Regions from separate parts of the Homo sapiens genome. Here all the other regions are linked to region 2. The links are contacts of gene promoters, found by promoter capture Hi-C in human tissues and cell types (Jung and others, 2019). All regions are on one chromosome and are shown on one strand. Each heading gives the region's core, a stretch centred on a gene start or on the middle of the fragment in contact. The rest is flanking DNA. Distances are from core to core; before and after follow the strand shown.

The links. The method cuts DNA at HindIII sites, captures the fragments that hold promoters and counts their contacts. A contact is called where the count stands out against the background at its distance.
Region 1: a contact is called between a fragment that was not itself captured here and the fragment with the promoter of SCRIB in region 2, in 1 of the 25 tissues and cell types used here (lymphoblastoid cells).
Region 3: a fragment that was not itself captured here is called in contact with the fragment with the promoter of SCRIB in region 2 in 1 of the 25 tissues and cell types used here (lymphoblastoid cells).

Annotation. Positions count from the first base shown.
Region 1 is chr8:143,443,423-143,447,129 of GRCh38, reverse strand. All of the region lies in intron 9 of ZC3H3 (zinc finger CCCH-type containing 3), which reads left to right. Among named protein-coding and RNA genes, the nearest start is that of MAFA, 15 kb to the right of the region's middle. The HindIII fragment of the contact is 7,185 bases long and covers 1-3,707 here.
Region 2 is chr8:143,813,442-143,817,319 of GRCh38, reverse strand. It overlaps SCRIB (scribble planar cell polarity protein), which reads left to right and starts at 1,547. Exons shown (of 37, transcript NM_182706.5): 1 at 1,547-2,106; 2 at 3,202-3,319; 3 at 3,424-3,502; 4 at 3,594-3,683; 5 at 3,794-3,850. The coding sequence starts at 1,948. It overlaps PUF60 (poly(U) binding splicing factor 60), which reads left to right. Exons shown (of 12, transcript NM_078480.3): 11 at 175-410; 12 at 501-976. The coding sequence ends at 800. RefSeq lists enhancers at 955-1,587, 1,588-2,220, 2,505-3,169. The HindIII fragment of the contact is 41,605 bases long and covers 1-3,878 here.
Region 3 is chr8:143,390,936-143,394,974 of GRCh38, reverse strand. No RefSeq gene overlaps it. Among named protein-coding and RNA genes, the nearest start is that of MAFA-AS1, 15 kb to the left of the region's middle. The HindIII fragment of the contact is 4,614 bases long and covers 1-3,766 here.

The sequences.
Region 1 (3,707 bases), core at 1,161-3,660, 370 kb after region 2:
GGTGGTGAGGGAGCTGCTGTGGTCAAGCCAGCTGGGCAAATCAGCCTGCTCTTGGCCAAGGAAGAGAGCGCCGTGGAGCCTGGCCCAGTCCCTGTGCCCTTCATGTCAGCTCCGCAAGCACAGGCCGGAAGAGTCTCCCTATGGACCATGCTCCCAGGGCCAGGCTGGCTTGGGGAAAAGGTGACCTGGTGCCTGGGAGATTCACCTGAGGCTCTCCACTGTCTTGGTGCTGATAGAAAAGGCAGACGACCAATTAGTTATCTGAAGACAGTTCTCCGGTTGCGGGCCCCAGTCCAGGCCCCAGAGGGCCCCCTGTGGGAAGCAGTGCCTCAGTGCATGGCCAGGCAGTGTGGACATTGGCTTAGCTGGAAACATGAGCCCACCCAGGCCACCTGGCCTGTCACGCTCGGCAGCTTGGACGGGCCTCTGTGCTTTCTGTGAAGGCTGTGTTCAACCTTTTTTTACTTTTTGACCATTAGAAGGATTAAAAGCTGTCTGATATTTTAAATTGGTATTTCTCTGATGTAAACTGAGGTGGAAAACCTTTTCCCATGTTTCTAAGGCCTTTGTGTCTTCGCTTCTGGAAAATCTTTTTGGTGATTTTTGGAATCTTTTTGGTGAGGGTGAGGGTGTTTTTCTTTTGGGTTGTTTGATTCTTACTGACTCAGAGGGAATTTATAAACATAAACAAACATAAAAATACATATAATGTCCTGGACTTTAATCTGTTAGTCACATGTCTTCTCTGTTTGTGGTTTATCTTTGCATTTCTTTGTGACGTGTTGAAAATCAGAAGTTCTTGATTTTAACGGACATAGTTTTATAGTTTTCTTTACATTTTGCACCCTTAGTGTCTTGAATAAGAAATTCTTCTCTACACCAGATTGTGCTCAGTTGCCTCTAAATATTTTGTTGTGTTTACCTTTCACATTGAGACTTTCATCCAGCTGGAGGTGATTTTCTTGTGTGGTGTGTGCGGTGAGGTCCAGTTTCATTTTGCCACAGCGCCTGGCCTCGAAAAGCCCATTGTTTCCAGCGGGTGTGCGGTGCAGCCCTCCCTCCTGTCGTGAGGTCTGCGTGGATGCGGGCTCTGCTTCTGGCTCTCTGTTTGTTCATTGGTCAGTTTGTCCCTGAGCCAAACCATGCTCTGAATTATTTGAGCTTCATAATAATAAAGCAAGTTCTTTCACCTTGTTCTTTTTTAGAACGAATTTCAGCTATTCTTGACCATTATTCTCCCAGAAATACATTTTAGATTTTTCTTGTCAGGTTAAAAAAAAGTTGGAATTTTGATTGGGATTGTCTTGAATCTGTAGCTCGGTTTGGTGGAATGGGCATCTGTCCCCAGAGCAGTGAGCTGCCAGCCTGTGGGGATGGCATCTGTATTTCTTCAGTTAGACCCTCCCTTTTAATGTCTTTTTTTTTTTTTAAGAGACAGAGACAGGGTGTCACTGTGTCACCCAGGCTGGAGTGCAGTGTTGTGATGATAGGTCACTGCAGCCTCCAACTCCTGGGCTCACGTAATCCTCCTGCCTCAGCCTCTCAAGCAGCAGGGATTATAGGCACATGCTATGACACCTGGCTAATTTTGTTTTTTTTTAATCTTTTGTAGAAACAGGGTCTTGCTGTGTTGCCCAGGCTGATTTCGAACTCCTGGTCTCAAGCAATCCTCCCACCCTCCCGCCCTGGCCTCCTACCTTTAATGTGTTTTAATAAGGTTCTTTATTATCTTTTTTTTTTTTTTTCTTAAGACAAAGTTTCACTGTTGTTGCCCAGGCTGGACTACAATGGTGCAGTCTGGGCTCACTGCAGCCTCCACCTCCCAGGTTCAAGCAATTCTCCTGCCTCAATCTCCTGAGTAGCTGGGATTACAGGCATGTGCCACTATGCCCAGCTAATTTTGTATTTTTAGTAGAGACAGGGTTTCTCCATTTTGGTCAGGCTGGTCTCCAACCACCGACTTAAGGTGATCCGCCTGCCTTGGCTTCCCAAAGTGTTGGGATTACAGGCATGAGCCACTGTGCCCAGCCCTTGATTAGGTTTTGTTAGATTTATTCCTAATAGTTTTATTACTATAAATAGTATATTTAAAATTTGTATTATCTCACTGTTCATTGGCGTATAGAAATATAATTTTATATAGATTTTATCTCCAGCAACTTTGCTGAACTATATTAGTAATTAGTTTATAAATTCTCTTGCATTTTTCTGTATAAACAATTATGTCATTTGCAAATAATGACTTTTTTTCTTCTTTTGAGTCCAGACAAGTTTTCTTTCTTTTTCTTGTCTTCCTGCCTTGGATAGGACCCCAATACAATATTGACTGGTGATGATAGTGGGCTTCCAAACTTTCCCCTTGACATGTGATGCTTTCTGGGAGTTATCTTTTACGAAACCCTGTATTTCAGGCTGAGGAAGTTACCTTCAATCACTAATTTGCTAAATGTTTCTTTTTAAAAAACTGTTGAATTTTATTAAATACTTATTTCATATCTGTGAGGTGATCATATGATTCTTCTCTTTTAACCTGTTAATGTGCTAATTTTTGTTCATTGATTTTCTAATATTAAACCAACCTTGCATTCCTGAGATAAATCTAACTTGGTCCTTGATATATTAGTGTTTTTACACATTGCAAGACTCTCGTTTATAATTTGTGTAGGACTTTTTGCATTCTTTTCATGAGTGATATTGGCCTAAATGTTTTTTTCTCATATAGTCCTGGTCAGATTTGGTTTCAAGATTATTCTGGCCCCATAAGCTGAGTAGTGTTCTGTGTTTTTCTATACAGTGGACTTGTTCATGGAAGACTGGAATTGTACATCTGGAGTATTTGGTAGAACCACAAGTAAAGGCCAGGTGCGGTGGCTCACACCTGTAATCCCAGCACTTTGGGAGGCTGAGGTGGGTGGATCACAAGGTCAGGAGAACAAGACCATCCTGGCTAACAAGGTGAAACCCCATCTCTACTAAAAATACAAAAAAGTAGCCAGGCATGGTGGCGGGCACCTGTAGTCCCAGCTACTCGGGAGGCTGAGGCAGGAGAATGGTGTGAACCCAGGAGGCAGAGGTTGCAGTGAGCCGAGATCGTGCCACTGCACTCCAGCCTGGGCAACAGAGCAAGACTCTGTCTCAGAAAAAAAAAAAAAAAAGGAAAAAAAGAACTACAAGTAAAACCCTTTGGGTTGGAGCTTTGCTTTTTAACTGCTGATTCCAATTTCTTCATGGTTATAGAAATACTTGGATTTATTTTTCTTGTCAGTTTTTCTAGAATTTGTCAATTCACTGGTGTTTTCAAACATACTGGCATGACGTTTGTTACCACAGCGTGCGGTGTCTTTCATCATCTGCAGCATCTTTAGTTACACGCTTAGCGTTCCCAACATTGTTTACATCTTCCTTCTCTTTATTTCCTGATTAACCCTATTGGATAAATTGATTACTGTTTTAAAAGAACCAACTTTTAACTCTCTTGGTTTTAATTCCTATTTTGTTTTTCTTTCCCTCTGCTTTGAGTTCATTTGCTGTTCTCCCCCTAACTTTTAAGCTAGGTCTTCTGTTGTGATATAAGCATTTAAGGCTATGTATTTTCCTTTAAGCCCTGTTTTCGCTGTTCCACAGATGGTGATACATTTCCAGATCTTTGGAGAGTTTTCTGGGGGTTTTGTTTGGCTGGTTTGGGTTTTTCATTAGTGAACATGAGA
Region 2 (3,878 bases), core at 298-2,797:
GTGGTACCAGATCCTCTCCTCTCCTGTCCTGGCATCTCTCGGCTCGCTGCCCTCAGCTGCCTGGCCCTGGTGGTCTGGGCACAACCCTCTGAGCCCAGGGCAGGCCAGCTCTGTGCCTTTCTGGGAAGGGGGGTGGTAGGGAGTGACTGATGGACCTGGTTGGTTTTCCTGCAGGTGTGACCCCAGCCCGTCCTCCTATCCCGGTCACCATCCCCTCGGTGGGAGTGGTGAACCCCATCCTGGCCAGCCCTCCAACGCTGGGTCTCCTGGAGCCCAAGAAGGAGAAGGAAGAAGAGGAGCTGTTTCCCGAGTCAGAGCGGCCAGAGATGCTGAGCGAGCAGGAGCACATGAGCATCTCGGGCAGTAGCGCCCGACACATGGTGATGCAGAAGCTGCTCCGCAAGCAGGAGGTAGGCAGAGGGGCAGGGTGGTGGCGGGGGAGAGGGTAGGGGGGCGGGGCCGCAGTGCTCAGCTGTCTTCCCCTCGGCCCTGCCCCACAGTCTACAGTGATGGTTCTGCGCAACATGGTGGACCCCAAGGACATCGATGATGACCTGGAAGGGGAGGTGACAGAGGAGTGTGGCAAGTTCGGGGCCGTGAACCGCGTCATCATCTACCAAGAGAAACAAGGCGAGGAGGAGGATGCAGAAATCATTGTCAAGATCTTTGTGGAGTTTTCCATAGCCTCTGAGACTCATAAGGCCATCCAGGCCCTCAATGGCCGCTGGTTTGCTGGCCGCAAGGTGGTGGCTGAAGTGTACGACCAGGAGCGTTTTGATAACAGTGACCTCTCTGCGTGACAGTGGTCCCTCTCCCCGGACTTGCACTTGTTCCTTGTTTCCTCTGGGTTTTATAGTGATACAGTGGTGTCCCCGGGGCCAGGCGCGCTCTGCCCAGCCCAGCCTACAGTGCGGATAAAGGTGCGGATGCTGCTGGCCCTGAACGTCCGTGTGTCTGCCGTCGGTCCTGTCACCGATCCTGGGCGTGTGTCCTTAGGGGGTCTAGGGCGAGGAGGCAGGGTTGGGGGGGTCTCTGGACCTGCTTCCTGTTGGCAGGAGGGGCCTGCCGTGGGCGAGACCTGGGCAGGGGGTTGGCGCCCCGGGCCCCGTCCCGCGGGTGGCGGCGGCTGGGTGGGCGGGGCTGCCTGGGGCGCCAGGCTCTCGCGCGCGGGCTCGCAGCCGTCCCCGCAGGGTGGTGCTGAGAGAAGGCTGGGCACCGGGACACCGCGACCCGCTGGACAGCGCGCGCTGCCAGTGCTTTTGTGCCGCAGAGCCGGCCGTCCAAGGCGGGCGGGCGGGCATGGTCGCTTCCCGGGAGGAGGCTGTGCGTTAAGATTCGTGGCCAAATGCCGCGGGGCCAGGGGCCGGGCTGAAGACCGGAGGGCGGAGGGCGCCGCCTCTCGTGGATTGTAGCTCCCAATATCCCGCGCGCGGGGCGGGCCCGGCTTCCCGGCACGCTTTGCGCGGTGCCGCTACGGGTCCTCAGAGGCGGCGGCGCGCGGGGCCTTCTGGGGGCCGCAGTCCGGGCGTGCTAGGCGGCGAGGGCCGGACTCGGCTTCCCGACGGGCTGCGCGGCGGCCGGGTGGGTGTCGGCGGGGCAGTCCGGCGGGCAGCGGCGGTTCCGGTGCGGCACAGCGGGCGGACGAGCGGGCGGGACGAGCTGAGCAGGACCAAGCGGGATGCGGAGCCGCCGCCGCCGCCGCTCCCCGCGCTTCCTAAGAGTCTGAGACCCGCCGGGCCGCGCCCCCTGCCCAGGCCCGCAGTCCGAGCGTTCCGAGCGCGGGCCGGGCCCAGCGCCGGCCGCGGCCGCGTCCCCGTCCAGTCTCGGGCGGCCCGCCCCCTGCCTGCGCCCCCTCCCCATGCGCGGCGCCCATGCGGACTGAGCCCCGCCCCCCGGCCCCGAGCCCGCCGAGCGCCGCCGCCGGAGCCCGCGCCGCCCACCCGCACCATGCTCAAGTGCATCCCGCTGTGGCGCTGCAACCGGCACGTGGAGTCGGTGGACAAGCGGCACTGTTCGCTGCAGGCCGTGCCGGAGGAGATCTACCGCTACAGCCGCAGCCTGGAGGAGCTGCTGCTCGACGCCAACCAGCTGCGCGAGCTGCCCAAGGTGAGCGGCCGCCCGCACCTGCCGCCCAAAGGCGCGCCCCCAGCCCGTGATTCCTCCGGCGGCAGAATCTGCCCGGGCGAGTCACCGCAGCCTCCAGCCGGCCCTGCTGGTTTGCACTGGCCAGGTCCCCACCCCAGCCAGCCCCACCCTTCTCTTCCAGCCGCCCTGGCTGGCGCAGGTGGCAGCGGTCATCAGGTGCTTGCCTGGGGATAGCGATTGTCACCGAGCCTGGAGGCGGAGCCTCAGAGTGAAACCCGTGGGGATTCAGGGAGGTGGATGGGGTTAGGGTGGAACTTGGATTCAGGTGGCTGATGAGTACTAGCTTCTTGGGCCGCTCTGGAGGTGGGTCCAGACCTCCTCTCCTTTTTTGCTGGGTGCAGGGGTGAGTGGGGGAGCCCTCTTGATGTACTCTTTGCTCTCGGATCTGTTCGCTGTCCCCCTTTCTTTACCCTTGCTTCTCGTGGTCAGGTGCTCTCCTAAGGCTGCTACAAGAAAGGAGGCTGGAGAAAGCAGATTAAAAAGTATTTCTTTTCTGGAGATGGGGTGCTGGGTGATCAGTACCTAGGGGTTGGGTGTCCCAAAGAATGTGACCCTGTTCTGGCCGTGGCAGTGACAGCTCGGTCCTCTGTGGCCACCTGCAGGCCTCGCGCGTAGCACTGTGCCTGTGGTACTGTGTTATTGTGGGGAGCGTTTACTGAGTTCTTGCTGCAGAACCAGGCCAGGCTTGTTGTCAGGATGCAGTAGCAGAGGCCAGTGTGGGCCCCTGGAGGGTGGCAGAAGTGGTTCAGGGGCTGGGTGGGCCCTGAGGTAAGACACAGGGTAGGGGATTGGGGCTTTGTCTGGTCGCCAGCAGGTGTCTTCTCAGAGTGGAGGCTGGTGTGAAGAGTAGAGGGAGGCAGCCACAGTGGGCGTGTGTACCGTGTGTTTCTTTCCTTTTTTTGCAAATGGGGTGTCGTGGTTAGACCCCAGGACCCGGTGTGACCTGGAGCAGACAGAGGCCTAGGGACTCTTGACTTGTGACACTCACGTGTCCAGGAGCTCTTCTCTGCTCTGCAGTGGTCTCTGCCACAGAGTCCGTGTCCTCCCTGCCCACAGCCTTTTTTCCGGCTGCTGAACTTGCGCAAGCTGGGCCTGAGCGACAACGAGATCCAGCGGTTGCCTCCCGAGGTGGCCAACTTCATGCAGCTGGTGGAGCTGGACGTGTCCCGGAACGGTGGGGAGCCTGGGCAGGGGCTGGGTGGGGTCTGGGGAGTGTCCGCTGGGGCTGCAGACGGCCTGCAGGCCATGGCATCTGTCCACTGTGACCCTCTGTGACAGATATCCCTGAGATCCCGGAGAGCATCAAGTTCTGCAAGGCTCTGGAGATCGCGGACTTCAGCGGGAACCCCCTCTCCAGGTGGGTGGCAGCCTGTGGTGGGGTCGGTAGGGGCTATGGGTCCCACAGCCCTGGACTGGTCATCCGAGGGCCTCTGCTTCCTCCCATCCAGGCTCCCTGATGGCTTCACTCAGCTGCGCAGCCTGGCTCACCTGGCCCTGAATGATGTGTCTCTGCAGGCACTGCCCGGGGACGTGGGCAAGTGAGTGCCTTCTCAGGTGGAACTAGGGTGGGGTGGGGGACCAGGATTGGCCCTGCCCCTGCTGCCACTGCTTTCCTTCCTCTTGCCCCAGCGCCTGGTCTCTCTTTCAGCCTCGCCAACCTGGTGACCCTGGAGCTCCGGGAGAACCTGCTCAAGTCCCTGCCAGCGTGAGTGTGACAGGCATTCTCCTAACAG
Region 3 (4,039 bases), core at 210-2,709, 420 kb after region 2:
AAAAAAAAAAAAGGCTTTCCCTGTTCAGGAGAACTCATGTGTCCATTACAAACACACACAAGGGAAACCCAAGCAGATGTGAACCCCAGCTCTCACACTTTGTCCCACTCCCTCATCTACTCTGGAGTTGCTGGGATCGCCACTGTCAGGAAATGAGGTCAGCTGTGCACACAGAGAGGAAGGGAACCCTGGCGGAGGGGACTCTGCAGGGGTGGGAGGCAGGGCCCCAGCCCAGAAGTGCTCACTGCTAGGATCCTGCTAGGGGAGGGGCCTGGATTTCTTCCCTTACTTGCAAGCCCCCCAGGGCCTTTCCCGGGGAAGCTGCCCCTGACCGGCTGCTCCACTGTCCTGGCCACAGCCTTCACCTGGGAGGAACAGACACTCTTTGCCCTGGATGGGCCTGGAGAGGCTGGGTGGCCCATGTCCACCCTCACCAGGGCAGCACCCGCTGGCTGCCATGCTTCGTGGGCCAGGCCTTGACCCCAGGTGGATTAATCTCTTCTCTGTCCCATCTGTGTCCCTGGCCTCTGTGCCTCATGTGAACTGCCCAGCCAGGGCTCCTAAGGGCAATAATGGAGGTGGCCGGGCAGGCCTGGTGAGGAGCTCTGAGCCCTCGTCCTGGGGACAGTGAGCCATGGGCCCTCTAACCGGGCAGGGCCACTGGGCCTCCCCGTGGACACCCCGTGATGGGGGCCCACCCGCCCCACAGCCCCCTGGCCCCACAGCCCCACACGCTCTGGGTCAGCCCTGCCTGTTAGCAATTCCACCTGAGAGTGATGTACCCAGGAGTTCCTGCAGGGGCCCGGCTGGCCCCATCTCAGAATCCTGTTGAGGGTCAGCGGCCCACATGTCTGTACTAAAGTCCCAGGAGTGAGGCTTGCGGGGCTGCCCTGCTGGGCCTAAGAACCCACTGGGGAGATGGGCTGAGCGTTGAAGCCATGTGCCACCAGCTGGCTGCCCGACCTGTCTCTCAGGACGGCGCCCTACTATGGCTCCAGGGCCAGGCCACTGTTCCTGCCCCAGCTCCCCAGGGGGCTGAGGACGGCACCAGGCCGGATGATCTGCTATTGATGAGGTGGGGGCGGCAGGGGGCAGGCCAGGTCTGGGTCAGCAGATCCGCTCCGGCATCAGATGTGCCCGGACATTGATCAGACAGATGAGGGCCTGGCTGGGCCTGGGGGTGGGGGTGTCCACCCAGCAGAGGCCACGGAGTGAGCACTGATCTGGAGAAGCACCTCCTCCCACCCCAACCCCCACCAGGCACTGCTCCATGGACCCAGAGGCCTGAGGGGACTCCAATGCTGCCCTAGGGCAGTGGACAGAGCTGAGGCCTGGCCCCCCCTGCTGTGAGTGGCACTCAGCCCTGCCCAGGATGGGCAGGGGGACCCAATCCCTGGCCCGTGAGCTCCACCTTGGCCCCAGGCCGAAGGGTGGGAGGCTCCGTGACCTCTGCACCCAGGGGCAGCTACAGCCCCTTCCCAGGTGCCTGCTGGCCCTGAGGGCCGGGCTTTACTGGCTGCCCAGCCCTGGGCATCCCAGATCCTCCCAGGTGTGAGAAGAGACAGCCCCAAGGGAGACCCTGAGGGGAGGGTCCCCAGCAACAGAGAGGGAGGAGGCCGCTCAGAGGCTGTGGGGCGGTGGGGAGAAGGCAGACACAGACCCAGAGAGAAGGAGGGAGCAGGGACCCCAGATACCCACATGAGACCTGCAGACAGACACACTGGGGAAGGATGAAGATTCCAGGACAAAGACAGAGACCAGCAGGAGGGGGTGTGTCCCACCGGCAGGGAGGGGCTGGGAAGTCAGGAATGTGGCTGCTTGTGACAAGGGCCCTATGCCAGCCCTGGGCACCCCTCAGAGGTCACCTTGGGGTGGCCCTGCCAGCCTGAGCAATTCATGGCTGGTGCATGTCATCCACCAGATCGACCATGGGAAGCAGGTGTGCTTGGTGGGCACTGGGAGCCTCTGGGACCCCGGAGCCAGGCAACCCAGAAAACCGCAGACAGGTCCTTGGGCCACCACACCCACCCCACCAATCCACCACTAATGAATTGGGATTTGATCCATGAGACAATAGTGGTGGCCAGGCTGGCTCCAGCAGGGCTGAGTGAGCTGAGTGCTGGAGCCCCGGAGACAGCTGCACACCGGCTGGGGTGCTGCAGATTGGGGGCTGGCGCTGCCCACCGCCCCTCATGCTTGTGCCCTTGGGCAAAGGCACTCCCTTCTGGGCTGTGGCTCCCCAACTCAACGCAGGTGGGAGCACCCTGAATATCCCCTCCTCCCAGCCCTGGTATTGTCCCTCCCTGGCTCTGGCTGCTAGGCTTTGTATGGGCTGCTGCCCATGCAGGCCCCAGGCCAAGCCAGTGAGGGTCGGGGCAGAAGGCCTGTGAGAGCCAGGACTGAGACACTCCTGGGCGGCCAGTTTGCAGTAGGGCAGGAATCCCAGGAGAACCTCAGGGACCCTTTGGTGAATGGATGGATGGATGGATGGATGGGTGGATGAGTGGATGGATGGGTGGATGAGTGGATGGATAGGTGGATGAATGGATGGGTGGGTGGATGGATGGATAGATGGTTGGATGATGGATGGATGGGTTGATGGATGGGTGGATGGACAGATGGACAAGTGGATGGATGGATGTGTGGATGGATGGATGGGTGGATGGGTGGATGAATGGGTGGGTGGATGGATGGGTGAGTTGATGGATGGGTGGGTGCATGGGCAGGTGGATGGATGGATAGATGGATGGTCGGATGGATGGGTGGATGGATGGATGGATTGATGGGTGGATGGACGGATGGGTGGATAGATGGATGGGTGGATGGGTAGATGGATGGATGAATGGGTGGGTGGATGGGTGGTGGATGGACGGATAGATGGATGGTTGGATGGATGGGTGGATGGATGGATGGATGGATTGATGGGTGGATGGATGGATGGATGGATGAGTGGATGGATGGATGGATGGATGGATGGATGAGTGGATGGATGGATGGATGGATGGATGGGTGGGTGGGTGGATGGATGGGTGGATGAGTGGGTGGACGGATGGGTGGATGGACGGATGGGTGGATGGATGCATGCGATAAGAAGGGGATTGGGAGCTCCAGAGGGAGGATAAACCTACTGGAAAGTGCAGTCCGGGTGCGCAGGGCCTATACATGGGGCCAGGTGGGGCACAGGCAGGTGGGCCACGTGCCACTGTGGCCTTGGCTGGAGGAGGGTGAGGCAAGGGGGCCGGGGAGAGGGGCACAGGTGAGGGGAGCTGCCAGATGCACGTGGCCTGAGGGCCCCTGGACTACAAGGTGATGGGTGGTTTCCCTGGGAGTCCTGCCCTGCCCCATGGAGAGCCCTTCAGGGAGGTGGGGACAAGAGAGCTGCTGGCCCTGCCTCTCTGTGAGGGATCAGAGGGAGGGGGCCACTGATGGAGGCAGCTGTCAGGGCCCCAGGGAGAGTTTTAAGGTGAGATTCCAGGAGAGACCAGGGCAAGAGAGACTTTTGTCAATTTAATAAAAAATCCATCTAGATTCCCAGTGCCTCGCCTGTTCCATGTTGGGCACACAGAGATCTCAGGCAACCCCTCTGTCTACGGCTGCCCAACCTGGACGTGCCCCATCTCAGCTCAGGTGGGCAGGGGGCAGGGTGAGGTGGAGGGGAGATCTTCCTCTTGGGAGGAAGGAAGGAGTTCCCTTCGAACCACCTGCTCCAGGCTCCATCAGGATTGCTGCTGTCCCAAGACCTCCCTGGGGCCACGACGCTGGCTCTGCCTACCCAGCAAGTGACCTGTGTGAGGCAAAGGGCCTCCAGGTGGGCGGGGGGGGAGACAGGATGTTCCCAGGAGGGAGCTGTCCACATCCTCCTCAGGGTGCCTGGCCACCGCAAGGTCGCTGTTATGGCTGTACAAACACCTCTTTCCAACATCTCACAGCCCGGTTGGCTCAGCCCCAAGACCAGCAGCCTCCTATGTTGCCCACCCTGTCTCCACGCAGCAACATGGTTACCGACCCAGTCACTCACCCCAGAGTCACTAAAAGTAGG